Linked DNA regions of Homo sapiens: regions 1, 2, 3, 5 and 6 are each linked to region 4. The links are contacts of gene promoters, found by promoter capture Hi-C in human tissues and cell types (Jung and others, 2019). All regions are on one chromosome and are shown on one strand. The core of a region is centred on a gene start or on the middle of the fragment in contact, and the rest is flanking DNA. Distances in the headings are between cores, read along the strand shown.

Region 1 (4,480 bases), core at 1,970-4,469, 370 kb after region 4:
TTAAAAAGATACAAAAAGCTTAAAATAAGAAAGTTGGCAAAAGACATAGCAAGCAAATATGAACCAAAGAAAACTGGATTGACATGTAATGTATGACATTCAAATTTAAGGCAAAAAATTTAAAAACTCCAAACGCCAGACAAAGAAGGGCACACATACATATGGGCGCAAGGAGCCACAGAATGATAATGCATGTCTATCACAATCATTCTAATATCTAAAAATATGGCCACAATACACAGCAAGCAACATGTGCCGGAACTGCTGGGAGAAGCAGATATTTTAACAATTCTAACTGGAAATTTTAAAAAATAATAAGCATAGTTCACATTGACAAAAATTAGCAGAAATCTCCAAATCCTGATCAAAATGATTAATAACCTTAAAAAGCTTTTCTATCTGGGATCTTACCTTACTGAGTCAAGAATTAATAATTTTGAACTAATACATAATATAGAGAACTCTCTGCCCATCAAGCAGAGAGTACAACCATTTTGAACACAGGTAGAACATGTATGAAATAGACTATGTGTTAGGACCTAAAGAAGCCTCAATGAATTCCAGAGGCACAGGGCCATGCAGACTGGGCAGCTAGTTTCTGTTTGTGCTTCTAAGTTCCCTTTGCCCATTCTTCAGGAGACCACCCGAAATGCACCATACTCCTTGGGTGCCCCTGACCTCCAGCTTCCCCTTGGGTTCAGCCAAAGCACTACCAGATCAGGGGAAGAGGGAGAGTGAGGTCCAGGGTTTGCTGCCCTGGCTCCCTTCCTAGGAAACTCTGGCTGGCTGCACCCCTCCACCTGAGCCTCTGCTTCTGCCCGCCCCGCTCCCTGCAGGCAGTAAGGCTGCAGTGCCACCAAGCCCCTGGGGCTCTCCGACCTCCTGCCCACACCTTTATCAATAGTCTCTTTATCAAACCCTTCTCAAATTACCCAATTTGAGTGTGCCATCTGCTTCCTGCCAGGATCTTGACTGAATACAGACTTGTTCTCTGACAACAATGCAATTAAATTAGAACCTGGTAACAAAAGGTTATAATTAAAGAAACACTATTGAAAAGTAAATAACATTATTAAATAACCCTGGGTTTAAAAGGAGATCATCAGGAACAGTAGAAAATATTAGATATGAATGATAATGAAAACATTTTATGTCCAAATTTGTGAGACTCAGCCAAGACAGTTCTGTAGAAGGAATTTTGTAGCTTTTAATACAGTAGATCTATTGGAAAATCAGAAGGCTTAAAAAGGAGCTAAGCATTTGGTTCAAGACAGAGGAACAGATCAAATCCAAAGAACCACAAAGGAAGGAAATAATACAGAAAGACAGAAGCAAATGAAATAACGGGAAAGACGTTTAACAGAACTAAAAGTTGGAGCTCTGAAAATATTTAAAAATATTAAAAGAGAAAAATGCAAAAAACAAAATACAGGCCAAATGCATGCCAGTAATCCCAGCACTTTGGGATGCCGAGGTGGGTGGATGGCTTGACCTCAGGAGTTTGAGACCAGCCTGTGCAACAGGGCAAAATCCTGTCTCTACAAAAAATGCTAAAATTAGCTGGGCGTGGTGGCACACACTTGTAGTTCCAGCTACTAGGGAGGCTGAGGTGGGAGGATTGCTTGAGCTGGGGAGGCTGAGGCTGCAGTGAGCCAAGATGGCACCACTGTACTCCAACCTGGGAGACAGAGCAAGACCCTGTCAAAACAAACAAACAAAACCATAAAAAGCCAGAATATAAAGAAAAAAAGATATGCTAGTCATTTAAATATTAACGTGAAATAGATTAATTCCTAGAAAAATGTCTATTGCCTCGAGAAATAGAGAACTTGCCAGATTAAAAAGCATGAGGAAAACGGAGGTGATAAAGACCCCAGCCCCAGAAGCCCAGATGGTTTTATTGTTTCTGCCAGGGTTAGGAAGAACAATTGATTTCTCTTTCATGCCGGCGGTTCCAGGAAATAGTGAAGGAGGAGGAGCTGTCTAGCTGGTTTCGGCGGGGCTGGGGCTGGGAGTGGGGGGCCCGTGTCTTGCAGAAGTGGATGTGAATCTCCCCCAGCCACCTGCAAGGCGCTCGCACGCAGCTGTCGGGACTGAGGTGAAGCCGGCTCTCCCAGGAGTGTGGATGAAATGGTTAACGGCGAGGCCGCTAGGGCAGCGCAGGCCCCTGCTGGGCGCCAGGGAGGCTTAGCCAGGCGACGCCAGGATGCCCATGGCAGGGGCTCGATGGCAGGGGCTGGGCTGGAGGGGACCCAGCCCCGGGGTTCAGGGTGGCCCGAAATCCGTGCACCCCCGCACCGCAGTGCGGGGAGGTTCCCATGGGCGAGCTGCCCAGAGGCTTTGTCGAAGTTGCCCAGCCCTGGGACGGTGGAGGGAGGACGGTGGCGCGCACAGAGATACCAGTCAGCCCCTGGAACTAGGAAGGCGGCTGGGGGCGGGTGACGCAGGCTGGGGTTTGCCGGGGTGGCCCCCGAGCGGCGTGTGACTTGGGGGTCCAAGGAAGTTAAACTGGACAGGCTGGGGTGAGGACAATGGGGGCCTGGAGAGGTGGGGCGAGAGGAGGGCGGGGGGTCCCCACGAGCCGCGGTAGAGGCGAGGCGGCGGGTCCGCGGGCGGGTTGCATCATCCGGCGGGGAGGGCCTGGGTCACTGCTGCTCTTCCCCCGGCGCCCCGGCCCCGACACAAGATGCGATTTCACCGCGCACCTGTTACACCCGGAGCCAGCATCCCTGGCGCAAGGAGCCCTCCCTCCCCAGCCCCGCCCGCCCCCCACGATGCGTCTGTCGCTGGCTCAGAGCGGGGGCAGGTGGACGTTTTACGATTTCACTCGAAAGGGGCCAGGGTGGGGGACGGCCCGGCGAGGGGTCCGCGGGCAAGTTCAGGTGCACGCGGGGCTTCGGGACGGGGCGCCGCCGGGTCCCTCCCCCGCGAGGTCTCAGGGGCACGCCGGGGGAGGGGACGCTGCGTCCGAGCCGGGTGTCGGTCCCCCACCCTCCGCGGGGCCCGCCGCGGTGTCAGCGGTGACGTCACAGCCCGGCCCCGGCCCCCTCCGTCCCCAGCCCCATCCCCGCGGCGGCCGCGTCGCCCGTCCCTCTCCCCGCGCGACAAACCAGCTGGCGACTGGAGCTCGGACGCCGCGCGCAGCCAACCAGCGCCTCGGGAGGGGCGCGGGGCGGTCCGGGCCGGGGGCGCGCAGCCCGTCACGCGGCGGCGCCGTCACAGCGCAGAGCAGCCGGCGAGCGGCAGCAGCTCCGGGCTCGAGAGCCCGCGCCCATGCCAGTGCCCATGCGGGGCCGCCGCCAGTGACGCCGGAGAGGTAAGGCCGCCGCCCGCCCGGCCTCCCGCGCCCGCGCCCCTCGCCCCGCACCTGCGCCCGGCAGCCCGCGCCCGCAGCCCGCACCTGCACCCACTGCGCCCAGGGCGGGGAGCTCCGGCCCGGCGCCCTTGTTGCCGCCCAAAGCGCAGGCACTGCGAGGCCCCTTCACTTCCAGACCTTCCTCCATCTCCGCAGAGAACAATGGGGGAAATTCAGGGGTGTCCGCCCTTCAGGTGCCGCTGGAAAAGGTCCCTTTGCCGCGATCTCGGCTGCAGCGGGACCCTCGGCTTAGGCGGGCGGGGGTCGCCCTCGGGAGGGCTCGCCCGGCCGGCGGGATCGGGATACCCCCGCCCTTCCCCGGCTATTCCGCTTCCCTGGAGAGGAGCCACCGGCGGGGCTGCGGGAGGGGCTGCGCCCAGACGGCGGGGGAGGGGAGGGATGGTGAGCGGGGCTGAGGACGCTGACGCCGCACCTGGGAGGGTGCGCGGCTGCAGCGCCTCGGCCCGAGGGGAGAGCGCGCAGGGCGGCCGGGCGCGGGCAGCTGCTCCGGTTCCCGGGGTGGGGGAGGGCGGATGCTGGAGCCGGGAGCAAAACAGGCGGGCGGGGCGGGGGCTGCGGCGTTGGGGCCTGGCCACCCGCTTCGTTGCACGGCCGGCCTGCCCATCACCCCCTCCCACGCCAGAGACCCCAGCTCCCTTCCAGAAAGACCCAGCACCTGGGAGGGGCCGCCGGCGAGCACTGCCTGCGTCTCAGCAGCCAGCGCCCCTGTAACAGGTGTGGCCCGGCGGCGAGGGAGGGGCTGCGGGGCCGCAGGGTCTAGGCTGGCGGCGCGCCCCCGGCGCCCGGGCTCGGATGACACGAAGGAACAGTGGCCGCGAAGACCTTCGCACTCCCGCTTTAAGCCGCTCCTCACGCTGACTTCCCCCAAACCAGCCGCGCTGCCCTCTCGCTGGGAAGGGCCGGGGCAGCATCCCCGCCGGGAGGGAGGGTCCGCAGGAGCGGGGCGCTGGGCGCCGGTAGGTGGGGTTGGGGGGGCCCTGCCGGCCGCAGGGGCGGGAGGGGGAGGGGAAGGAGGGAATGCCAAGTCATGGGGCCTGCTGGGCGCGAGCGCGACGTCGCCCGGCGCGGACCCGATGCGCGCCCACGTCCCCGGGAATAGGGACT
Region 2 (4,528 bases), core at 22-2,521, 320 kb after region 4:
GACAGAATGGGGAAAAGGGAAGCCATATACCACAGGCATCTGAGCCTGCGTGCCCTGATGTCCACTTGGGGTCCTGGCCTCTGCCGACCCTGGGTCCCCTTGAAAAGTTTGTGGACTTGGGGTTGGGACCCTCTTGGCTGTTGCGGTCGCGTATTAACCAGCATGGCCATTGTGGAGCTCACCAAGCTGATGTCCCTCAATGCCACAATCAATCATTAAACCCAGGGCACACTCCTGCTCCTGTGTCTCTCCCAGAAAAGTGTACTCCGGAGGCGAATACTCTGCCCATACCTCCATATTTTGTGTATCACATCAAGATTCCAGAAGGAAGGCTGCTGAGATTTGAGGGGAGGCTTCAGCTTCTGAAACCCCACCCTGTCACAAAGCAGAGCTGGTGCCTGGGGCCCTGGACAGCGGCCGGGGCTCTCAGGAGTGTGTGCTGGGACCAGAGGCTTCCCTGTAGTTCCGTCCTGCACATGCTCCAGAAACAGCTCAAGGAGACTGGGGGGATCGGGGCACCTGTGCTGCTCCCAGCCCTATCAGAGTCAGGCCTCATGAGTGCCCGACACCGCCTGGAGGAGGCAGTGGGCTGGCAGGAGGTTCGTGCGCACAGGGCCACAAGGTGGGTAAGCGCTCACCCAGGAACGGGGGCTGCCAGCTTCAAACAGAGGGAGGCCAGGGAGGCCTTGAAGGATGGATCCAGGGCCATCCCCACCTGGGCCTCTCCCTTACCTATGCGCTCCCCGATGTCCACGGCTCGCTGCCCCCAAATGCCATTGGCCCCAACCAGGAAGGAGTCCCCAGGCTCCAGCACATTGACCAGGGCGGCCTCCAGGGCACAGTGTCCCGAGCCAGAGATGACCAGTGTGAGTGGGTTCCTGGTCTGGAACACGTACTGGATGCCTTCCTTGATCTCGTCCATGATCTGCATGCGGGTGGTATAGGGTGAGACCCAGGCTCCCCGCCTCCCCAAGTGAGGAGGCAGTGACCCCCTTCCCTCGTCCACGATCTGTGGGTGGGAACATGGGTGAGACCCAGGCCCCCCGAGTGACCCCCACTCCTACCTGGTACATATCCTTGCTCATGGACCCGATCATCTGCAGCCCCCCGGCTGCCATGATGCGAGGAGGCAGGTTGGAAGGACCAGGCCCCAGCAGGAGCTGGTTGGGGATGGAGAGGGGCTTGAGCAGGGCCTTGGGGGGGGTCACCAGCAGCTTGTGAGAGGCCATGGTCCGCACCCAACCTGCCGCTCGGGAACCTGGGGCTGCACTGGCCTTGGCCAAAGCCTGGAATATTTCCCAGCAGGGCGGACACAGAGGTGAGAGGTGAGGATTGGTGGATGGGCTTCCGTGGCAGCCCTGCCTTTTGTTCCCTGAGGCTTATCTGTGCTTGTGCTGCGGGTCACGGCCAGGCAGCAGGGGACGAAGCCCTCAGGCAGAGGGAGCCCCCAGGGCTGAGTGACAGAAAAACAGAGTGTGACAAAGCTGTCCTCACCCCAGCCCTCCTCGCTCCCACTCTGAGTCCTGCACGTCCAGCCCCTCTTATTCTGCTTAGCTCAGGGGTGAGAGAAGTGTTTCTTAAAGGGTCGGAGCACAGATAATTGAGGCTTGGCAGGCCCTGTGGTCTATGTTGCAACAACTCAACCCTGCTGCGTGCTTGCAAAGCAGCTGCCAGAGGTGTGGGCGTGTTCCTATAAAACTTTATTTACAAAAAGCAGGTGGCAGGCCAGATTGGGCCCATGGACTGTGGTTTGCTGACCCTGGCGCAGCTGATGGGAAGGCTTGTAAACCAAAAATAAAATTCGAAGGCCCCCCAGCAACCATCTGAATGGGGTTCCCTGTCCGCCAGGGTGCTCTAAACTTTAACCCGGAAGACGTTCAGGCCATGCCACATCATAACCCCCAGCATTAACATCGACATAGACCTTAAGTCTGATAGGAAGCATTTACCATCTATTTTCTCTCTAAATCCCGCTACCTGAAGGCATCATCTGCTCCCTGCAACCCCTATTTCATAACCCAGACACTCCTTTCTGCTGATAATAATTCTTCAGTCAGTTGCCAATCAAAATATGTTTAAATCTACCTATGACCTGGAAGCCCCCCAATTCAAGTTGTCCCGCCCTTCCAGATGGAACCAATGTAAATCTCCCATGTATTGATTGATGCCTCATATCTCCCTAAAATGTATAAAAGCAAGCTGTGCCCCGACCACCTTGGGCCCTTGTGGTCAGGGGTGCACCCTTGAGCTTGGCAAGGATGTCCTCCCTCCTGAGGCTGTACCACGGGTGCATCCTTAGCCTTGGCAACAAAAACTTTCTAAATTAATTGAGACCTGTTTGAGGTACTTTTTGGTTTACAGGCTCAATTTAGCAAGCAAACCTGCATGGTATACAGACACACACAAGGCAGGGGTTGCACAGTGAGTTTCAGCATGCTGCATTCCAGAGATGTATAGAAATTCTAGTTATGTATAAGTTTTAGGTTGAAAAGAGGCCTGGAACCAGGTGCCAACTTTAGATAATAGGGAAGTCTAATTCATTCTACATTTCTCAAATAAAGAGGCTCCCCTCCACCCACCCCACCTGGGGCCTGCTTGATGGTCTCCAGGTGATCTTTGCTGTCCTCATTTTCCCTCTGACAAATATCTTGGTGAAATCTTTGACCCTTCCTTTTCTGCCATGCTCATGTCCACCTGCTTCCTGTTGGGGTCTCAAGAAAGGGGAAACGGCACAGTGAAGAGGGGTGTCCAGTGCGCCTGACTACTTGCTGCTGAAAGGGAGTTCAGGGGGGTAGGTCACGTTTTTCCCTTTCTTGCTCTCGGTCATGAAGGGAATAAAGGGTCATGAAAACTTGTGCACGGAGGCACGTGATGGGATTCCATCAAGAAGCCCCACGTAAATGGGAGCTGCAGTTGCAGGCCGGTATTTCCATCAAGAAGCCCCATGTAAATCGAGCTGCAGTTGCAGGCCAGTGTTGGGAATGCATAGCCTTCTGCAGGTGGAATTGTTCTCATGTAGAACATAGAAAAGCAATCAGAGCATTAAAAAGGCAGGGACCAAATATTAAAAGAAAAATGACAGAAGATAAAGGTCTAAGGAATGGGGGAAGCCAAGTGATTTTTTGAAAACCAATCAGTAAAAGTTTTGGCCCAGTCTTGGTTGCTTTGGGAAAGTGTGTGTAGCCATTTGGCTTGTTTGATGATTTCTTGGGCATCGGTTTCCACTTCTCCAGACACATAAATGTAGGTGCAACGGGTCCTGTTGATGACAGCACAGACCCCTCCTTGTTCAGCTAGGAGGTAATCCAGAACTCACCTGTTACCAGACACCAAAATCCTGCTTGTGAGTCTAATGACTTGTAGAGCTGATAGATGGGTGCCAGCTTTTGCTATTTCAAGGGAGGCGGTAGGTTCTCTTACTTGTGATTTCCTGGTAAGTAAAACCTCCCCAAGGGGTAAGAGTTGTGATAGTTCCCACAACTCCGGCCACAGTAAGTCCCAGGGCCCTTTTCCTTCTAGAAGGGAATTCTGAATTAGAAGTGATGTTTAAGACAGTGATTTGGGTGGGAGCTATTGTTCCCAGGCTACAATCACCATAGTGAAGAGAATGATCAAGGTGGGATAGGGCCAAAGCTTGAAAAGGGTTTAAATAGTTTTTAGTGGGGCTGCTAAGCCATAAGAGCCCAGGAGGGGCAGGATGATTATTTTAATTAAAATGTTGGGAAAAAAGGAAATGGGCCTTTTGACAGTTTTAAGAGGACTCATATGGGGGAAAGACTATGTTTATGTACTGATGGAGGAGGTTTAAAAGCAGGCGGGTGCCAGTGCATGGCATAGGATGTAAACCAGGTGGCACGGTGGTTATTTCCTGCACTGGTTGCATCATTATAGTAACATACATGAAGGTATTAGGAGTGCAGGGGTGCTGTATACTGGGAGCCCCACTATACTGGTCCAGTTTAACGGCTTATAAATTGGCAGTGATGAGATAGAGTCAGATTTTTTTTTTTTTTTTTTTTGAGATGGAGTCTCACTCAGTTGCCCAGGCTGGAGTGAAGTGGTGTGACCTTGGCTCACTGCAACCTCTGCTCCTGGGTTCAAGCGATTCTCCTGCCTCAGCCTCCTGAGTAGCTGGGATTACAGGCACCTGCCACCACGCCCTGCTAATTTTTGTATTTTTAGTAGAGACAGGGTTTCACCATGTTGGTCAGACTGGTCTCGAACTCCTGACCTCAGGTGATCCACCCACCTCTACCTCCCAAAGTGTTAGGATTACAGGTGTGAGCCAGCGCACCTGGCCAGAGTCAGAGTTTTGATTGTAGGAGGCGAAGGCCTCAAATGAGTCAAAGTTAGCTGCATGAGTGTCATTATAACAAGGTGTACCTCCCAAAATAACATTACAAGTTAAGGAAGTTTCAGTGATATTGTAAGTGTGGATGGTGGGGGAAGTAATATGATAGCACGAAGAGGGAGGTGGTTTCCAATTTACCAGCACAGAAGGAAATGGTCGGGGTGGGAAGGAGTGGTG
Region 3 (5,039 bases), core at 404-2,903, 490 kb before region 4:
TTTCCCCCACTTTTTGTGGAGAACGGGGTCTCACTATATTGCCCAGGCAGGTCTCGAGCTCCTGGGCTCAAGCAATCCTCCTGCCTCTGCCTCCTTGAAAGCTGGGATTACAGGCGTGAGCCACCGTGCCAGGCCTGTGATTCATTTTGAATTTATGTTCGTGGAGGGTATACGGTCTGGTCTAGATTTATTCTCTTTCATGAGGATGTCCAGTTGTTCCAGCAGCGTTTATTGAGGAAAATGCCTTTGCACCATTGCATCCCTCTGCTGCTTTGTCAGAGGCCAGTTGACTCCTTATGTGGGTGCCCCTGTGATTTGAAGGCCCCAGTGAGACTGGCTGAGTCGAATGAATCGGACTTTTCTTTCTCTGTCTTGAGCAGTGCTTCTCACTAGTGTCAGGCCCCGTGTCTTTGTACATCTGTGATCTTGGCAGCTGTAGGGATGATGGTGGACTTGTGGTATTTGGCTGAGAACATCCTTGCAGTCCAGGCTAGGGGTCATGAGCATGGATGAGTCACCTGCTGGCTGTGCCCACGCTTCCCCCGCCACCATCCTCTGCTCTCTTCTTTGCCTGTGCTTTCTTCTTCCTCGACAGGGTAGAGCTGGCCTCTCTGACCAAGACAGCTGACAGTGCATCTCCTTTCCCCTGCCGTGTTTCTGGAACATTGAACTTTACCAGTTGTGTTTGTTACTATTTAGTAAGGTTATCTTCTCCATGTTGGGTTTTGCTGGAGGTGTGGGTATGGCATCTTCTAGAGAAGATCCAGACCTTTTTGGATTAAAAGTAAGGTTACAAATCACTGTGCTGTACTTGTTGTCATATGAGATTTCTGAGTTGTATTGTTGGGATAATTTTCTTTTTCTTTTTTTGAGATGGAGTCTCGCTGTGTCACCCAGGCTGGAATGCAGTGGTGTGATCTCGGCTCACTGCAACCTCCACCTCCTGGGTTCAAGCAATTCTCCTGCCTCAGCCTCCCGAGTAGCTGGGATTACAGGTGCCTGCCACCATGTCCAGCTAATATTTTGTATTAGTAGAGACAGGGTTTCACCATGTTAGCCAGGATGGTCTCGATCTCCTGACCTTGTGATCCGCCCGCCTCAGCCTCCCAAAGCGCTGGGATTATAGGGGTGAGCCACTGCGCACAGCCTGTTGGGATAATTTAAGCTTGACAGTTCAAGGCCTATGAAACAGGACCAGGGCTCAGGAGCATCCTCTTTTTCAGGCCGTTAATTAAGGAAAAGTTGAGCCAGGGCGTGACCCTCGTCGTGGACAGATACGCATTTTCTGGTGTGGCCTTCACCGGTGCCAAGGAGGTGAGTGCCACTTGGCCTCCTGTCAGGCGAGCACAGATGTGTGGACCCAGGACTGCCCTTGAATGCGAGTACGAGTGACATGCCTCAGATTACTCTGCAGAGTTTCGTGATTCTTATATTCCTTTTATCTCTTTGCTAGATTAATTTGGTTTTATCAATAAGAAGAGCAAACATTTATGTAGCTAGAGATTGTTTCACAGATAGAACCATAGTTGGTATTTGGATTATATTTTCCACACGCTTTTTTTTTTTTTTTTGGGGAGACAGTCTCTCATTCTGTCACCCAGGCTGGAGTGCAGTGGCACGATCTCAGCTCATTGCAACCTCTGCCTCCTGAGTTCAAGCGATTATCCTGCCTCAGTCTCCCGAGTATCTGGGATTATAGGCATGCACCACCGTGCCCAGCTAATTTTCATACTTTTAGTAGAGACGGGGTTTTACCATGTTGGCCAGGCTGGTCTCAAACTCCTGACCTCAAGTGATCCACTCATCTCAGCCTCCCAAAGTGCTAGGATTACAGGCATGAGCCACTGCACCCAGCCTCCAGATGCATTTTCAAAGATGGTTCATTTGTAGTACTTTTTTCCCCCGTTTTTTGAAAGAGGGCGTCTCCCTCTGTTGCCCAGGCTGGAGTACAGTGGAACAAGCAAAGCTCGCTATAACAACTCTTGGGCCCAAGTGATCCTCCCGCTTCAGCCTCCCAAAGTGCTGGGATTACAGGCGCGAGCCACCGTGCCCGGCCACGCCCTCACTTTTTAATTCTGCCATTTCTTCATGTGTTAGCTTGAGTCCTTCCCCTCTGAAGTATTACGTTGTATAATAAGGAGGACAAGACTCATGATTCCTTTGCTTCTTCCTGCTGTGCGGATCAGCTGACAGAGCCGCAGGCTCTGTGGGAGGTTCTCGTGGACGCCTTCCCTCAGCTCATTGTGCTGTTGTGTGATGTGTGGCCTGCAGTCACAGCCTTTCTGGTCCTACCTTTCCTCCGGAAACAGGACAGCATTTGGAGGGAGATGGGATGAGTAAGGGAGGGAGAGAGGGTGCTGGCACAGCCCTGGCAAGAAGGGCCAGTGGATGAGACTAGGCTGGCACATAACAGGCTCTAGGAGTGCCTGTCTTCTTCCTGCTCTTCCACGGGAGAGGAGACCCTGGCGTGTGTGTGGCAGAAAAGACACTGCCAAGGACCTCGTGCCTGTGTCCGGACCCAGCTGCTCTGTGCTGCAGGCGTTCTAGGCCGGGGGTCTCCAGGGGTTCTGTACATAGACTGTTTGCTCCTGGCCAGCAGGCCTGTAGCTGTGCTGGGAGGGCCTCCATGGGGCCTGGGCTGTGGGTGGCGGGGACTGGCAGCCGTTCTATCTACCTACTTTTCTGTCCACTTGTCTGTTTACAAAGGAAAAACAAAGGTGACACTGGAGAAACCGACACGTTTGAGGTTCTAAAAATTAAACGAGCCACAATATAAACAGTCTCACATCTTGGTACCTCACCAAATGTCCCCTCATTTTTTCCTGTTTTTACGACTTTCGAAACAAAAACCTAGACTACACTAAGCTTTAACTGTTGGGTTCTTTCTTGGCAGAATTTTTCCCTAGATTGGTGTAAACAGCCAGACGTGGGCCTTCCCAAACCCGACCTGGTCCTGTTCCTCCAGTTACAGCTGGCGGATGCTGCCAAGCGGGGAGCGTTTGGCCATGAGCGCTATGAGAACGGGGCTTTCCAGGAGCGGGCGCTCCGGTGTTTCCACCAGCTCATGAAAGACACGACTTTGAACTGGAAGGTGAGAATCCCAGAATTGCACACTAGGAAGCGTGGAGAAGTGGCTCAGGATGACACCGTGGTGGCTGGCACAGTTGTGTCAGCAAAGCTGCTGCCGTTTCCGTCTGGTCCTCCCAGATGTGGAGCCCCGGGAGTAGTCGTTCAGGGGTTCTCGGTGCCAGCAAATTCTTTTTTTTTTGAGACAGAATCTTGCTCTGGGTGCCAACCCAGGCTGGAGTGCAATGGCACGATCTCAGCTCACTGCAACCTCCGCTTCTTGGGTTCAAGTGATTCTCCTGCCTCAGCCTCCCGAGTAGCTGGGATTACAGGCACGTGCCATCATGCCTGGCTAATTTTTTTTGTAGAGATGGGGTTTCTCCACGTTGGTCAGGCTGGTCTCCAACTCCTGACCTCAGGTGATCTGCCCACCTCGGCCTCCCAAAGTGCTGGGATTATAGGCATGAGCCATCGCGCCCGGCCAGTGCCAGCAAATTCTAACCCGATGAGTTTTGCTAAATGTTGACATTTGGCGCTTTGTCTGGTGGGTCAGGTGAGAGTCTGCGCAATCCTCCACATCCTCAGCCCCTCTTCAGACACGAGCGCCAGCCTGTTCCTGCCACTGTGTCCTCTGGTGCGGCCTCTCGCTGGGCATGGGCCCTGCAGCAGCACCTGGCCATCTAAGTTCAGGAGGGTGCTGTGTGCTGCCTCTCCCTTCAGTCCTGCCTCCTTCAATCTCAGCAGTCCCAGGTCTGGCTCTGCTCCCAGGACGCTGGACTCTCCCCTCCCAGTGGACTCGCAGGCTGGCCGCCTCTGCTCCTCCCGACCGCAGCCCCTACCTCTCTCCCAGACTCCAGTCGCCCGTGCCCACCGCTGCCCACGTGGCCTCTTTCCAGGCGGCAGCCAGGGCTTCTGGCACGTCGGGCGCCAGCACTGTCGCTTGTGGCCACGGCCCGCGGAGCTTCAGTCCCTTGAGCTCCTCCTCCAGAGCAGGGCCGAGGGTCTCGCCCCAGCCCGACTGGCTGTGCCTGCAGATGATGCTGGTCACGCAGCTTTTCGTTTCCCGGAACGCAGGTGGGATAGCAGTGCCCTTTTCTGGCAGTGCGGCATTCTCTCTGGCAGTCATTCCGCCCGGAGAGGCTCATCTTGGGCGGTTCTGGGCGACAGCTGTGTGGCTGCACAGTGGCCAGTGAGAGGCATCTGGGAAGGTGGCCCTTGTGTAGGGAGTCACTCTCCTTCCGTCACGGTCACACCTCATGAAATGGTTAGATTCTTCCAAGTGCCTTCTACGCCCCTGGCAGATTTTCTAGAATTTGCTGTCCCAGAAGCTTGAGAAGGGTCCGGTGCCACCCGACAGCAGAAGCCGGGATGCCGCTGAGATGCCAGCGCTTCTGAGTCCCTCTCACTGCCTGCCTTCTGGTGGAGAGAAGGCTGTCCTGCGGGCTTATGCCCTCCCCACGCTCCTCGCACCGTTCACGCCATTGTGCAGCACAGCTGTTAGGACCAAATTCATCTTCCCCGCAAGGACGAGTCAGGCCCAGTGTTGCACTGGTCCTGCTGTCTGGCTTCTGCTGCGGAACTTCCTCACCTTCCAGGCAGGGCCCAGGAGCCACAGGAGCGTGGGCAGGGCAGGGTCTGCCCTCTGTGCTTCCGACTCGCCGCTTGCGAGCTGGAGGGACAGTCACCTCGACCTGGTGGGCTGGGTGGGTCTGGCTGTGCTGTGGGCTGTGCCTCACTCCTGCAAGTGGGCACTCAGCGGGGTTGGGGTCACGAGGCTGAGGTCGGCTTAAAGCAGGAGTGGGCAGTTGGCACATCATGTTTCTCCTGCATCAGGGCTGTGGCAGGAATGCCGGGTGACTACCGTAGACACTTGTCAAGGTTGAGGTTCAGAGAAAGGTGTGGGGTATCCCGGAGGTCACCACAGTGTGCCAGGAGGTTCAGGTTGGCCTTCCAGAGCCCGGCCTGTGTGAAAT
Region 4 (4,340 bases), core at 304-2,803:
TAGACCCAGGCAGGGGAGGACCTCTCAAGTCGCACCACAGTCTCCTGGGTGCTGTTACCTCCGAGGCGTGGGCTGTGCTCCCGTAAGAGCCCCTCTTCTCTGCCTCAGGGGGGCTCACATCGATCAGGACGGTGCTGTCCTCTTCCTGGGCCCGTCGCCGCAGCATCCTGCTCCTGCACCCAGCAAGGCCGGGTGGGGATGGGGGTCAGAGAGGGGATGGGTGAGACCCGTTCCTGGGGCCACCACACTGCCTGCAGTGAGCTCACTTTACAGACTCGACTCGGAGTAGAATGGGGCTGGGCTGGCTCGGCAGACTCTCCTGGCCATGAGCACATGGAGAACCCCCTAGCCAGCCACGAGCTCCAGGAAGAAACCAGTGCCGGGGCGGGAGCGTCTGGCAGGCCTGGCACAGCAGGCGTCTGTCTGTCCATCCAGTGAGTGCCCGTGTCCCCCAGCCCTGAATGCCGTCCACTCTGCCTGGGTACTCAGTGGAGCCTGAGAAGGCCCAGAAAGGTGGGCCTGGAGTACAGACACCTCTCCCTCTCTTATCCGTAGGGTGGAGCCATGTGAGCCAGGGACAGGAAACCCCTCAAGTCGCCTGCCTTCGCTCATGGCCTGAGGACCCAGTGCCAGGACCCATAGGCCCTGAGCTCCCCAGCAAGGCGGGCCTGATGGAGCCCGGCCTCACAACTCTTGGGGGTCCCAGCTTCCTCCCGCACCTTCGCCCCGGGGGTCTCTCTCTGTGGGAGGACAGGTGCCGTGGCTCCTAGTCTTGGGCTGGCAAAACGGGGCCAGGAGCACGACATCTGTGGCCCTGGAAGGAGAGGGTTCGAGCTGGGGCTGGCATTTGGAGCTGCGACGATGACCGGAGGGTGTGACCATGGAGGCGCCGCAGGAGGTCGGAGGGGCAGCCTTCTAGTTCTACCCTTCACTTCACATTAGCGGAGGCCCAGAGGGACAGAGACTGAGCCTGGGCCGCCTGCACCTGCCTAACCCTGAAGCCCGAGCCAGGTCTCAGTGTTAGGACTCGGCCCCGGCCCCAGGCTGGGAGCCTCACTACGGACTGTGGGGTGTTCCTGGAGGAAAGTCCCCGAGGAGTTTCGGCCACCCAGCAGCCCCTCATGCCCCCATCCTTCTGTGGTGGGCAGGCGGGCCCCTCCTCAGAGCTCTCTGCAGAAAGAATGGGGATGCCCCCCACCCCAACGAAGGGACCTGCTCCATGGGGGAGCCCCTGGGCAGGCAGGAAGCCAACCCCAGCTGGGTGTACCCCGTCCAGAGCCGCACTGAGTGTGTGTCCCTCCTCGTGCCCCAAGGGGCTTTGGGGACCAGGGCGGGCCCTGGCACTGCCTCCCCACAGGCCAGGGTGTGTGAAAGTCCCGGTGGGCTGGGGTGCCGCCCTGCCTCCCTAGAGTCCAACGCTCCACCTTCTCCCTGTGGCCCACACGTCTAGGCTGGGTCCCCACCTGGCACAGTGGCTTCCGGAAGAGGTCTCGGAGGTCATGGCCCACCTCTCAGCGTGAGCCTGGTCTCGGCAGTAGAGTCCCGTCCTCACTGCGGGACAGAGGGTGGGGAGGGGTGGCCCTTGGAGCCCCGCCCAGGCAGTGGCAGCCATTCGCATGCCCTCACCTTGCCTGCAAGTGGGCCAGGAAGCAGGCAGGGGAGGTGCCCAGCACAGCTGGCCAGGGCAAGGCTTCCCGGCTCCTGGAGCAGGATCTATCTTTGTTTAAATAGGGGGTGTGGGGCTCAGAGCTGCAGACAGAGGCAGCCCACTTGGCTGGGCTTTCACACACCCGCATGCAAATGCTGCCGTCCTCCTGGGAACCTTATTTGCTTAGAGATTTCAGGGCTGGCATCAGCTGTCATAGTTGCTGCCTTGGAGGGTCTCGAGGAGGTGGGATTCCACAGGAACAGCCACAAGTGCCACCTCTGCTGGAAGCCTTGCCAGGCAGACCTCGTAAGCTCTGTTTATGTGGGGGGAAACTGAGGCTCCTTGAGGTTACGTAGCATGTGCTGAGTGGTGGGCCAGGGTTTCACCCGGGGGCTGGGGAGATTGGGAGACCCAGATCACACTGCTGGCTCTGCTAATGCCTGAGGGGTGACCTCAGGCACATCCCATGCTCAGGGCCCCATCTGCAAAAGGACAGGAGGGGTCCTAGCCTTCCTCCCATCCTTTCCGCCCTCCTCCTCGTCCTCATTCTCCTCCTAGCCCTCCTCTTTCTCCTCCTAGCCCTCCTCCCCCTCCTCCTTTCTCCCCCTCCTCCTATCCTTTCTCCCCACCTTCCCTCTCCTCCTTCTCCTCCTATTGTTTCTCCCCCCTACTCCTCCCTCTCCTTCTCCTCCTATCCGTTCTCCCCTCTCCCTCTCCTCCTATCATTTCTCCCCCCAACTCCTCCTCCTCCTCCTCTTTCTCCCCACTCCCCCTCCTCCTATCGTTTCTCCCCCTCCCCCCCACTTCTCCCTCTCCTCTTCCTTCTCCTCCTTTCTCCCCACTCCCCTCCTCCTGTTTCTCCCCCTCCCCCCACTTCTCCCTCTCCTCCTCCTTCTCCTCCTATCCTTTCTCCCCGCCCCTCCTCTTCCCCTCTCCCTCCCCCTCCCCCTTTCCTCCTTGGTGCCTGGCAGTGTCTGAGAACCTACCACCCGTGCTCCTCGCCCTCCATGCACAACTGCACTGGGGAGCCCCAAGCTCAGCTTGCTGTTCCAGGTGCCCCCTTCTGCCTGTTGAAATCCCTCCAGGCGGACCCTCATCCTGGCTGCAGCTTTCCCTTATACCTATGCCCCTCTGTGCTTGGCACCTCCCAAGGGGCCCTGTTCTTGGACCTGTGTTGTGCCTCGGAACAGCGGGAAGGCCCTGCAGGCCGGGTTCCCTGTCAGCACCAGCAGAGCCTGGGCGGCAGGACCTTGGGGCCCTGGGCCTCAGGGCATCTGCATGAGAGGTCTCTGCTTGGCCAAGCTCAGCCTGCAGGCGCCTGAGGTGGATCCCTGGACGAGGGCTGGACTGGGGAAGTGCTCCAGAAACCAGGAAAGGAGTCGGGAGGCAGGAGGGGAGGGAGGATGAGCGGGGCACCATCTCCCCAAGACCTGTGGAGGGTGGCCTCAGCCTGCCATGGGCACTCTGCAGGGGAGGCAAGACGAAGCGTTTCCTCACCTGGATGCAACTGTAGGCTCTTACTCTGCTCAGTCATTGGCCAAGGACCCTCCCAGGAAGACATGCCACCTCCCAGGAGCTCCTGGCTCTCTGCTCTTGGTGACAAAGTGGCTCTGGTGGCCTCAGGGCTGTCTACTCAAGAGCTTCAGGGCCGGCTGCTGGAGGTGACCACACCCCAGTGGGAGCCCTTTCAGCGACAGTGCACGCACAACACCTAAAGGGGGTTCGGCCCTGAGGAGTGTCTTTCCATTTTTACTTCATACAACTCTGTTTGGGTGGGTGGTTTTTTCAAGTTGTGTTACTTCTGAGGGAAAGGAAGGAAGGGAGGGAGGGAGAAAAGCCGCAACCAGCACAGGGGGCCCGCCAGGTTCCAGGCCTTGGGAAGAGCCCAGGCCCAGAATCTGCTGCACCATCTTTCTTTGGCTGTAACATTTTTTTTTTTGAGACGGAGTCTCGCTCTGTCGCCCAGGCTGGAGTGCAATGGCGCCATCTCGGCTCACTGCAAGCTCTGCCTCCCGGGTTCATGCCATTCTCCTGGCTCAGCCTCCGGAGTAGCTGGGACTACAGGCGCCCGCCACCACGCCCGGCTAATTTTTTATATTTTTAGTAGAGACGGGGTTTCACCTTGTTAGCCAGGATGGTCTTGATCTCCTGACCTCGTGATCCGCCCGCCTCGGCCTCCCAAAGTGCTGGGATTCCAGGCGTGAGCCACCGTGCCCGGCTGGCTGTAACATTTATGGACATACTTAGGGTGTAGTTAGTGGAGGTGGAAGTGGTGGTGAAGAGCCCACACTGAAGTTCAGCCTCTTTCTGAGGCTCCTTCTGAGGCTGGAGGCGCGTGCAGGGCTCCCTCCATGAGGACCCTGGCACTGCGCCCCAGCCACATGGGAGCCCTGCTGGACGGACGGTGGCTGGGTCGCAGGGGACAGACTCTTGGATGCCTGCACTGCCCGCTTTCTAACCTTCCTGTCTGCAGGTGCAGCCAGCAGCCCAGCTTCCTGTGAGCGGCGGCTCCACACAGGCCACTGGCCCCTGGTGTCTGAGTTGCCCACTCTGGCCCTTGGCCTGCGTTTCCGTCAGGATTCCTGTCTCCTTTATTTGATGTGTGGGAGTTCTAAATGGTAAGCCTTGCCAGTTTTAAAAGCTGCAAACGCCTTCTCTTAATCTACTGTTGCCATTATTCAGGTATTATTCA
Region 5 (4,617 bases), core at 1,679-4,178, 320 kb before region 4:
TGAATTCCCAGCAGCATACAAACAGGACTCAGGAGACCTGGGTTCAATCCTGTCTTTGCCATATTCTGGTTGTGGCCTTGGGCACGTCCCTTTACCTCTTAGTTATCCCTTGCCTGCCTCGGAGGGCTGTTGCAGTCACCAAGTGACTGGACCTGAAGGTAAGCTGCCCAAGGGGCTCAATTGTGAGTGTTCCCTCCTCCCACCCAAGGTCAGCCTTGTCAATAATAAACACAGTGACTCTCTGAGCACCTGCCAAGGGCCAGGCCCGCCACATACGGTGTTATTCTCACAATCTACAAGAAAAGTACTATTAGCGCCATATTCCCAAGGAAGAAAGTGAGTGCCCAGAGAAAAAACTAAAATTTCTTGGAGGTGAAAAATAGAGACCAGGCTCAGTGGCTCACACCTGTACTCTGAAAGCACTTTGGAAGGCTGAGGCGGAAGGATCACTTGAGCTCAGGAGTTTGAGAACAGCCTGGACAGCATGGGGAGACCCCGTCTCCACAAAAATTAGCTGGGTGTGGTGACATGTGCCTGTGGACCCAGCTACATGGGGAGCTGAGGTGGGAGAACTGCTTGAGCCTGGGAGGTCGAGGTTGCAGTAAGCCAAAATTGCCGCACTGCATTCCAGCCTGGGTGGCAGAGTAAGACCTTATCTGGGAAAAAAAAAGAAAGAATCACTGAAAAGAAAATTTTTATATGAAAGTTGAAAGATAAAACCGAAGAATAAGGCCGAGCGTGGTGGCTCATGCCTGTAATCCCAGCACTTTGGGAGGCAGAGGTGGGCAGATCACGAGGTCAGGAGTTTGAGACTAGCCTGACCAACATGACCAACATGATGAAACCCCGTCTCTACTCAAAATACAAAAATTAGCCGGGGGTGGTGGCGCACGCCTATAATCCCAGCTACTCAGGACGCTGAGGCAGGAGAATCGCTTGAACCTGGGAAGCGGAGGTTACAGTGAGCCAAGATCGCACCACTGCACTCCAGCCTGGGAGACAGAGTGAGACTCCGTCTCAAAACAAACACACAAACAAACAAAAACCCCGAAGAATAACAGAAGTATACAACAACAAAAAAGAAATGGAAAACAAGAGAAACGGGATGAAGGGCCTGGAAGGTCAATGCAGGAAAAGACATGGTGATGATCACGTCCGGACGGCAGCTTAGCAAGACAGCAGCCAGGAGCAAAGGGTTAACAATTGGCCAAAAGCAGGCAAAGGCTGAAAAACTCTTCTAGGCACTTTTATTAATTTGTTTTTTGAGGCAGAGCCTTGCTCGGTCTCCCAGGCTGGAGTACTGTGGCATGATCTTGACTCACAGCAACCTCCAACTCCCAGGTTCAAGCGATTCTCCTGACTCAGCCTCCCTAGTAGCTGGGACTACAGGCACGCACTACCATGCCTGGCTAATTTTTGTATTTTTAGTAGAGATGAAGTTTCACCATGTTGGCTAGGCTGGCCCCGAACTCCCAACCTCAAGTGATCTGCCTGCCTCAGCCTCCCAAAGTGCTGGGATTACAGGTGTGAGCCACTGCTCCCAGCCTCTTCTAGGCACTTCGGAAAAGTGCAGCGATTACTGACCACACGAAGGCCAGAGATGCAGCAGGCATCTATTTACATGCATTAAATACATATATTATCTTCATGCATTTACACATTCATTCAACAAACATTACTGAGCGCCTGCCGTGGGCTGGCATGGTCCTGGGCACAGCTCCGCTTGCAGGAAGCCCACTTTCTCCTGGGGAGTCAAAGCACAAACAAAGCCAAGTCAGTACGTAAAGAAGCAGGGGTGATGAGAGATGCGGACCCAGGAGGGGTTCAAGGGGCTGTCCTGGACGCATGACAGGGAAGCATAGCTTCTTAAAGGACTCGGCAGTGCACCATGAGAAGACACGCACCAGGGAGCAGAGAGAAACGCCAGAACCCTCTCGAAGAAGGAGGGATGTGAGGAGGTCAGGATAGTCACCTGTGCTGAGCCATCATGGAGAGTGAGGGCCTGTAAGGGTGGACACAGTATGCAGGAGGGACAAATCTTCCTCACCGGACAGGTGGGGATCCCTGCGGTGCACTAGGGGAATGCACACAGGGGGCACTATGACCTGGCGGCCCACGGGGCACGGGGACGCACCAGGTAGCCTTGGGATCTGCAAGTCCCTCCCGGACCCTGGGGAGTGCCATGACGGCTTCCAGCAGCAGTCACTGTCCTGGGCGCGTCCCGCGCTCTAGCCCAGGTGGGTCCCACAACGGTGTGACCAAGGACGTCCTATGACCACCCCTTGACAGGTAAGGAAACTGAGGCAGGAGAGGCGAAGCAACTCGCCCAAGGAATGGGCTGTGCCGGTAGCTTCTCCAAGGCCTGGTGCGCCCTGGCCTGTGCGCGTGATCCCGGGCGGGGTCTCAGTACGAACAGGGGCTTCGCGATGTGGCCAGCGCGGGCTTATCTCCGTGCCGTGACGACAAGGCTAGAAGCCTGGGCGGCCGCGGTGGATCCTCGTGGCGAGGCGGGGAGGGCGCCGGGCCTCACTGGCCCGCTCGAACCAGGGCTGCGCAGGGCAGAGCCCAAGGGAGAGGGCCGCGCGGCCGCCGTAACGTCGGAGACGACGCCTGGCAGGCGCCAGCAAACGCAGAAGACCCGCGAGGGCGAGGCAGGGAGGGCGCGACGCGACAACGACCACGTGCCCCGCCCGCCCAGGCGCGCGGCCTGCCGGGAGACGCAGTCCAAACCTTTCGGGAGCAGGACTAGGGGTCCCAGAGAGCCTCGCGGCGCGCATGCGAGCCCCGGCCCCCTCTCGCGCAGCCTGCCGGGACTTGTAGTCCAACGCCAGCAGGCTTCCGGGCCCGGAGTGGGCGGTGGGACTCGGGGTCCCAGAGAGCCGTGCGCGGGCCGCGACGCCGAGCACCGCCCTCGCCGTCGCCTCCGGGCTTTCTCCGGTCGCTGCCGCCACCACCGTTGCTTCGCGGGCTGGGAGGCCCGGGGTCCCCGGGCGAACAGAGGCTGCGGGTGGGAGCCTTCGCGGGCGCTGCAGAGCGGGCCGGGGGAGGCCGGGATGGAGCCCCGCGGAGGTGGGCGCGCTGCCGGGCGGGGCGCTTGCGGCGATTGGGGAGGGGGCAGAGGGAGGGGCCCGGGGCGGGGCTCGGTGGCGGGGACACCGGGGCGGGGGCACCGGGAGGAAGCTGCCTTGGAAGAGGTGGGGGCGGCGACGGGAGGGGCGGCGAGCCCCCGGGAGCCTGGGCGTTAGGCCCGGGCGTGGCGGGGCCCCGGCGGCCTGGGGGGTCTCCTGGGCCCCCCCCCACCCATGGAGCCCGCCGCCCCGGAGGTCGGTCTCAGATGACTGAACTGGGCACCGAGCGCCCCTGGTGTCCCTCGCAGTGGACTGACGCCGCAGGGGCGAGCTAGCCGGCTCCGCGCCTCTCCGCGGGATCCAGACGCCTCCTGGGGCTGCTGGCGGAGGGTCTGAGGCGGCGCGGCCATGGCTCACCTCCGGGGATTTGCCAACCAGGTGAGAAGGGTGCAGGTCAGGAAGACTAGCGGCCTCTCACCGAGGGGCTCCAGAGTCTCCTGGGGGTTCAGAGGGGAGCGCCACGCCGGAGCGGGCAGTGGGGTGAGGGAAGGAGCGCGCGTCGTGCGACCAGCGGAGCCGTCCTGAGGTGGGCGCAGGGCGGCCCCGGGGCTCTGCCGTGTGCCTGTGGCGTTTTGCGTGGCAGAAGCTCGCAGGCCTCTAGAAACCGAGCCCCTGGTGGCTCCGCCTGTGCGAGGGCGGTGGAGGTGCGTGAAGAGACACCGGCGCAGGGACGGGGCGCTGCCCCCAGCGCGGGGCGGGAACCTCATGTCAGCATCCGAAGGCAGTGGAAGGTCGGGGGCCACCCTGCGGCCTCGGCCTGGGCCGCGGGTCATTCTGGCCGTGTTGGGCTGGGCAGGGGCTGTAGGGGAGACCCTGGCGGGCGCTGAGGGGCTGAGATTGTGGAGAAGCAGATCTGAGTGGCCGGTGTGCAGGGAAAGCAGAGAACACGTGTGTGCTTTGGCCCAGGGGAGGGTGAAAAGGCTGCTCTGTCAGGACCGTTTAACCCCTGCGACGGGCGGTTGCCCGAACATGAGACTCATCTTTCTTCTTTAAAGAAGTCGTTTCCACTATGGAGCCACCTTTAAGCGTCTGGTGGGACAGCCTCGGAGGGAGCCACTACGGCGAGCCCTTAGCCTGGAATGAGGACCAGCTGCTGGTGCCAAAGGGCTTGCCGGGGAAGGAGGGTGGGGTCAGCCAACCTGGGGCCTGGGGACTTGCATTCTCTACCCCTCCCCACTTTTTTGACTCTGGCCGCTGGGTTTTCTTACATCTTAGCTGTTCGGTTTTATTCTCCTTGATGCCTTGGCTCTACCTAAGGCGTTGGAATCGCCGCTAAAATGTGTGGCCCTCCTTGTTCACTCCTATGTGCTGAATGGAGAGTTGGGCCTGCAGTGGAACAGGAAGGGCGTCTGTTCGCGTAGGGGCAGGAACTGGAGTCAGGGCTGCTTTGGAGGAAACCGGACCAGCCTAGAGACCCGGAACACCATGTGCAGCTGTTGGGCCAGGCAACCTGGACCTGCGTGGTCACAGATGAGACTGGGGCTTGCTG
Region 6 (4,323 bases), core at 188-2,687, 370 kb before region 4:
ACTGAGGTTTTGGCTACCCAGCCCGGTGGGCGCAGTTTCCAATGGGGGGGCCTCGGAGGCCTCGGAATCCAGAGGGCAGCGGGCGGGATCTCGGCCAGTAACAGCAAGAATCTGTTTTCCAAAATAAACATCGGGACACGTGCTCCTACAAAGGGTTTCTGTGCCCAGCTGAGAACAAGGGTCACTGTGGAAGCTTAGCCACCCACTAATAGATTATTCTTTCTGGAGCTTTCTATTGTTTATGGCCAGCATGACTGAAATCTGGGCTGAGCAGGCAGCTGATGGGGGGGCCTGTGGCGTGGGAGGCCTGAGAGGGCAGATCCGGGAGCACCCGCCTGGGTGGCCCTGTCCCGAGCGCCTGGCCGTCCCAGGCAGGGGGTGGGCGCCCCTGGGCCGGACCCCCATCTCGGCCTCGGAGGGAGGCTGCGGCCCAGCAGGGGAGGAGGCGCAGCTGGGGATCCCACCAGGGCGCACTCACCCAGGCGCAGCAGCACCGCGCACACCTCAGCCAGGCGTCCCGGGACCGGCGCGGCACGCTCGGGCGCGCTCCAGGAGAGGCCGGCGCGCAGCAGCCGCGCGTGCACGTACTCCCGGCCCAGCGCCTTGGCCTGGGCCACCAGCTCCTTGTCTGTGGGCGAGCGGTCAAAGGCGTCCATGATCTCGGCGGCGAAGACCGAGGAGCGCCGCAGCACCTCCATGGCGGCGACGCGGGTGGGGGGCGCCGCACCTGCGGGCACAAGCGCTCAGCCGGGTGGAGGGAGGCGGCGCGGGGAACGGGGCGCGCGGGGCGCCGGGCTGGGCGTGGCCCTCGGGAAGGGCCGTAGCCGGCGCCGGGTCCGCTCTCGTTTTTTGTGCCCCAAATCTTTAAAAACCCAGCGCCACCTTCTTTCAGAGCCCGAATTCAGCTACAGACATTCCCCGAGGCTGCCAGGGACCGGTGGGGCCGCGGGGAGACGGCGGTTTGCTCCGGGGCCGCCGGGCCCGCCCTCGAAGACGAGTGCGTGGGCGGCGGGGGCGGAGGGCACAGCCCAGCGCGTCCCCCACGGCGACTGCCAGGACCCGGCCCTCCCCGCCCCGGCCCGGGGCCGCCCACCTCCGCCGCTGGCGTCCTGCGCGCGTGTCCCCGGCCTCGCCGTTCCCGTGGCACCCCGGGCACCCCGGCACGGACGCCACGCCCGCCGCGCTCACCTCTCCCGCCGCATGGCGCGGGCGCCGGGGTGGAGTTCTGGCTTCAGGATCTGCTCGCCGCCGACGACGACCTCGACCCTTCCATTCAGACCCGCGAGGACGCGCGCCCCGCCCCGGCGCCCGCCCCGTCCACGCCCGAGCCGGGAGCGCCAGGTCCACGGGGCTTCCCGCGCTCTTGGGGGGCTCCTGCCGCGGCGTCGGGGGCCTGGGCAGCGAGGTGGGCAGCGCGCGACTCCCAGCTGGCGAGAGGCTGGGCTTGGGGCTTGGCCTTCTAAGGGAAAGGCAACCCTGGGGGCGGAGTCGGGGAGACGCTTTCCGAGCTTCCCCGCTTAAGGAGGACCGAGCGAGTTCCCTGGATGCGCCCGGAGAAGGCGACCAGGCCGGAGCGGCCCCCGCAAGGCAGAGCAGTGGGGACCTAGAGCCAGCCCCAGCCGCCTGGGTGTTCCCCGGGGTCCATTTGAAAATTGGGTTGTCTTCTTCGTTCGTAGAGGTTCTTTCCAGAGTCTGGAGACGTGTTCTTGGTCCGGACGCATGCCCTTTGTATTGTAGATGGATTATTGGATTCGCATTTATTGAAGTTATTGCAAATATCTTCCTCTATTTTGTGGTTTACTTTTGCTTTGGATGAACAGGAGTTACTCTTAGTGATGTCCAATTTATCAATATTTTCTTTATGGTTAGTACCTTTTTATTGGGATATCCTCCTGTATTTCCTTTTAGAAGCTTGTTTTAGGGCTCATATTTAGATCTATGATTGATTACATATTAATTATTGTGAATGGTGTGGTACGGGGCTAGAGCTCATTTTTTTTCGTGTAGATATCCAATTGACCTGGCATCATTTATTGAAAAGCATCATTTTTTTTCCACCGAATTGGAGGAGTCCCCAACATCTCAACATAAATCAGCTGAAGAGTGTGTGTGTGTGTGTGTGTGTGTCTCGGAACTCTATCCCACTGGTTTATTTCTTTATCCTTGAATCAACCTCACACAGTTTGAACAATAGGATTAACCAACTTGGCCTAATTCACGTGTGTACAACACTATAAAATACTTATTCTTCCCATGTGCACATAGGATGTTTATCGAAATAGACCATATCATGGACCTTATACAAGTCTCAGCAAATCTCAACGGATTGAAATCTTACAGTGTGTCCTCTCTGAATTAAAAGTCAATAACAGAAAAATTACTGGAAAATCTGCAAATGCTTGGAAATTACATGTCACACTTCTAAATAATCAATGGGTCAATAATCACAGTGGAAGATTAAAATATGTTGACAAGAACAGTGAAAAATAAGACATATCAAATGCTGTACAGTGCAACTAAAACACTGCTTAGAGGAAATTTGATAGCTTTAGAAGAAGGATTGAAAATTAGGCCAGGTGAAATGACTCAGACCTGTAATCCCAGCATTTTGGGAGGCCTAGGTGGGCAGATCACCTGAGCTCAGGAGTTTGAGACCAGCCGGGTCAAAATGGTGAAAACCCCGTCTCTACTAGAGATACAAAAAATGAGTTGGGTGTGGTGGCAGGTGTCTGTAATCCCAGCTACTAAGGAGGCTGAGGCAGGAGAATTGCTTGAACCTGGGAGGCGAAGGTTGCAGTGAGCAGAGATCATCCCACCTGCACTCCAGCCTGGACAACAGAGTGTGATTCCATCTCAAAAAAAAAAAAAAAAAAGGAAAAAGAAAAATAAAATTACTGCTCTAAGCTTCCACTCAAGAAGCTAGAAAAGAACAATAAAACTAAAGATGAAAGGAAATAATAAAAATAAGAGCAGAAATTAATGGAATAAAGCAAAAAATAGAGAAAATCAACAAAGCCAAAAATTGGTTCTTTGAAGAGATTAATAGAACTGATAAATCCCCAGAAAGATTGAGTAAGAAAAAAGATAACACAAATTTCACTATCAAGAATGAAAAAGAGGACATCACTGTAGATACTACAAGCATTAAAGGGATAAAAAGATAGTATGGAGGACTTTTTGACAGTGCATTTGAAATTTTAGATGATACACAACTTACCAAAACTGACACTAAAAGAAATAGAAAATCTGGATAGTCCTACACCAATTAAATGCATTGAATCTGTAATTTAAAATCTTCCCACAAAGAAAATTCTAGGTTCAGATGGTTTCATTGAGAAATTCTTCTCAACAGTTAAAAAAATACCACCAGTCTCATACAAACCTGCACAGAGACTAAAAATGAGGGAGTATTTCCCAACTCATTTTATGAGGTCAATGTAATTTTAATACCGAAACCTGTCAGGAACATTACCAGAAGCTAGGAAAGCTATGGAACTTCTATCTGCTATGACTTTCCTGTCTGGGAAGTAGGAAGAATAATAATACCTACCTCCTAGGATTGTTGAGAGGACTGAATTCTTTTTTTTTTTTTTTTTTTTTGAGACGGAGTCTCGCTCTGTTGCCAGGCTGGAGTGCAATGGCGTAAACTCGGCTCACTGCAACCCCGCCTCCTGGGCTCCAGCGATTCTCCTGCCTCAGCCTCCCGAGTAGCTGGGACTACAGGCACCTGACACCACGCCCGGCTAATTGTTTGTATTTTTGGTAGAGAGGGGGTTTCACCATGTTGGCCAGGATGGTCTCGATCTCTTGACCTCGTGATCTACCTGCCTTGGCATCACAAAGTTCTGGGATTATAGGCGTAAGCCACAGCGCCCAGCCTGGGAGGACTGAATTCTTAATCCATGTCATGTAGTAAGTGCTCAGTCATTGTTAGCTGCTTTTTCAGAAAAGCTGTAGTACAGTAAAATCTGAGGGTGCATTTTAATGAACTCTTTAATGTAGAGTCTAGAGCTCCTTGGACAGTGTGCGCCTCAGATTTCTGAAGAGCAGTCAGGTTTGGGATTCCCTGTAGATAGCATTACAGAAATGCAGAGAGGGAAAAGATCTCGCCCAAGGAGTCACTGCAAGACTGGGCATGGCCAGACTGTAAACCTTGGGGTCTAACTCCATGGTTCCTGAAGTACCTCTGTCAGGGGAAGAGCCTGTACTTGCAGGCAGGAGACCAGGAAGCTCACACCTGCAACCTTCCCGCTGTGTAGCCTCAGGCAACTTCCTGCCCCATTCACAGGCTCAGTTTCCTCCTGTGCAGAATGAACTCATACT

The links. The method cuts DNA at HindIII sites, captures the fragments that hold promoters and counts their contacts. A contact is called where the count stands out against the background at its distance.
Region 1: the fragment with the promoter of KIF1A here is called in contact with the fragment with the promoter of ANO7 in region 4 in 2 of the 25 tissues and cell types used here (IMR-90 fibroblasts and spleen).
Region 2: the fragment with the promoter of AGXT here is called in contact with the fragment with the promoter of ANO7 in region 4 in 3 of the 25 tissues and cell types used here (IMR-90 fibroblasts, adrenal gland and mesendoderm cells).
Region 3: a fragment that was not itself captured here is called in contact with the fragment with the promoter of ANO7 in region 4 in 1 of the 25 tissues and cell types used here (pancreas).
Region 5: the fragment with the promoter of STK25 here is called in contact with the fragment with the promoter of ANO7 in region 4 in 2 of the 25 tissues and cell types used here (IMR-90 fibroblasts and lymphoblastoid cells).
Region 6: the fragment with the promoter of BOK here is called in contact with the fragment with the promoter of ANO7 in region 4 in 2 of the 25 tissues and cell types used here (lymphoblastoid cells and mesenchymal stem cells).

What each region holds. Positions count from the first base shown.
Region 1 is chr2:240,818,958-240,823,437 of GRCh38, reverse strand. It overlaps KIF1A (kinesin family member 1A), which reads left to right and starts at 3,219. Exons shown (of 49, transcript NM_001244008.2): 1 at 3,219-3,316. RefSeq lists an enhancer at 2,233-2,807. The HindIII fragment of the contact is 12,815 bases long and covers 205-4,480 here.
Region 2 is chr2:240,865,567-240,870,094 of GRCh38, reverse strand. AGXT (alanine--glyoxylate aminotransferase) reads right to left here and starts at 1,271. Exons shown (of 11, transcript NM_000030.3): 1 at 1,065-1,271; 2 at 733-925. The coding sequence starts at 1,229. RefSeq lists an enhancer at 1,252-1,752. The HindIII fragment of the contact is 24,692 bases long and covers 1-4,528 here.
Region 3 is chr2:241,676,504-241,681,542 of GRCh38, reverse strand. It overlaps DTYMK (deoxythymidylate kinase), which reads left to right. Exons shown (of 5, transcript NM_012145.4): 3 at 1,224-1,314; 4 at 2,894-3,091. Among named protein-coding and RNA genes, the nearest start is that of DTYMK, 7.8 kb to the left of the region's middle. The HindIII fragment of the contact is 3,955 bases long and covers 1-3,630 here.
Region 4 is chr2:241,185,890-241,190,229 of GRCh38, reverse strand. ANO7 (anoctamin 7) reads right to left here and starts at 1,553. Exons shown (of 25, transcript NM_001370694.2): 1 at 1,464-1,553; 2 at 59-173. The coding sequence starts at 166. It overlaps LOC105373971 (a long non-coding RNA gene), which reads left to right and starts at 1,808. Exons shown (of 3, transcript XR_924064.3): 1 at 1,808-1,954; 2 at 4,122-4,266. RefSeq lists enhancers at 915-1,598, 1,599-2,283, 3,479-4,001. The HindIII fragment of the contact is 24,444 bases long and covers 1-4,340 here.
Region 5 is chr2:241,506,895-241,511,511 of GRCh38, reverse strand. It overlaps STK25 (serine/threonine kinase 25), which reads left to right and starts at 2,928. Exons shown (of 12, transcript NM_001271977.2): 1 at 2,928-3,069; 2 at 3,377-3,506. The coding sequence starts at 3,477. LOC107985788 (a long non-coding RNA gene) reads right to left here and starts at 2,640. Exons shown (of 2, transcript XR_001739177.2): 1 at 2,415-2,640; 2 at 1,617-2,074. RefSeq lists silencers at 2,524-3,293, 3,574-3,623 and an enhancer at 4,054-4,103. The HindIII fragment of the contact is 21,130 bases long and covers 1-4,617 here.
Region 6 is chr2:241,555,859-241,560,181 of GRCh38, reverse strand. It overlaps BOK (BCL2 family apoptosis regulator BOK), which reads right to left and starts at 1,437. Exons shown (of 5, transcript NM_032515.5): 1 at 1,189-1,437; 2 at 479-727. The coding sequence starts at 698. BOK-AS1 (BOK antisense RNA 1) reads left to right here and starts at 1,039. Exons shown (of 2, transcript NR_033346.1): 1 at 1,039-1,405. RefSeq lists silencers at 415-544, 595-664, 695-774. The HindIII fragment of the contact is 1,356 bases long and covers 1,053-2,408 here.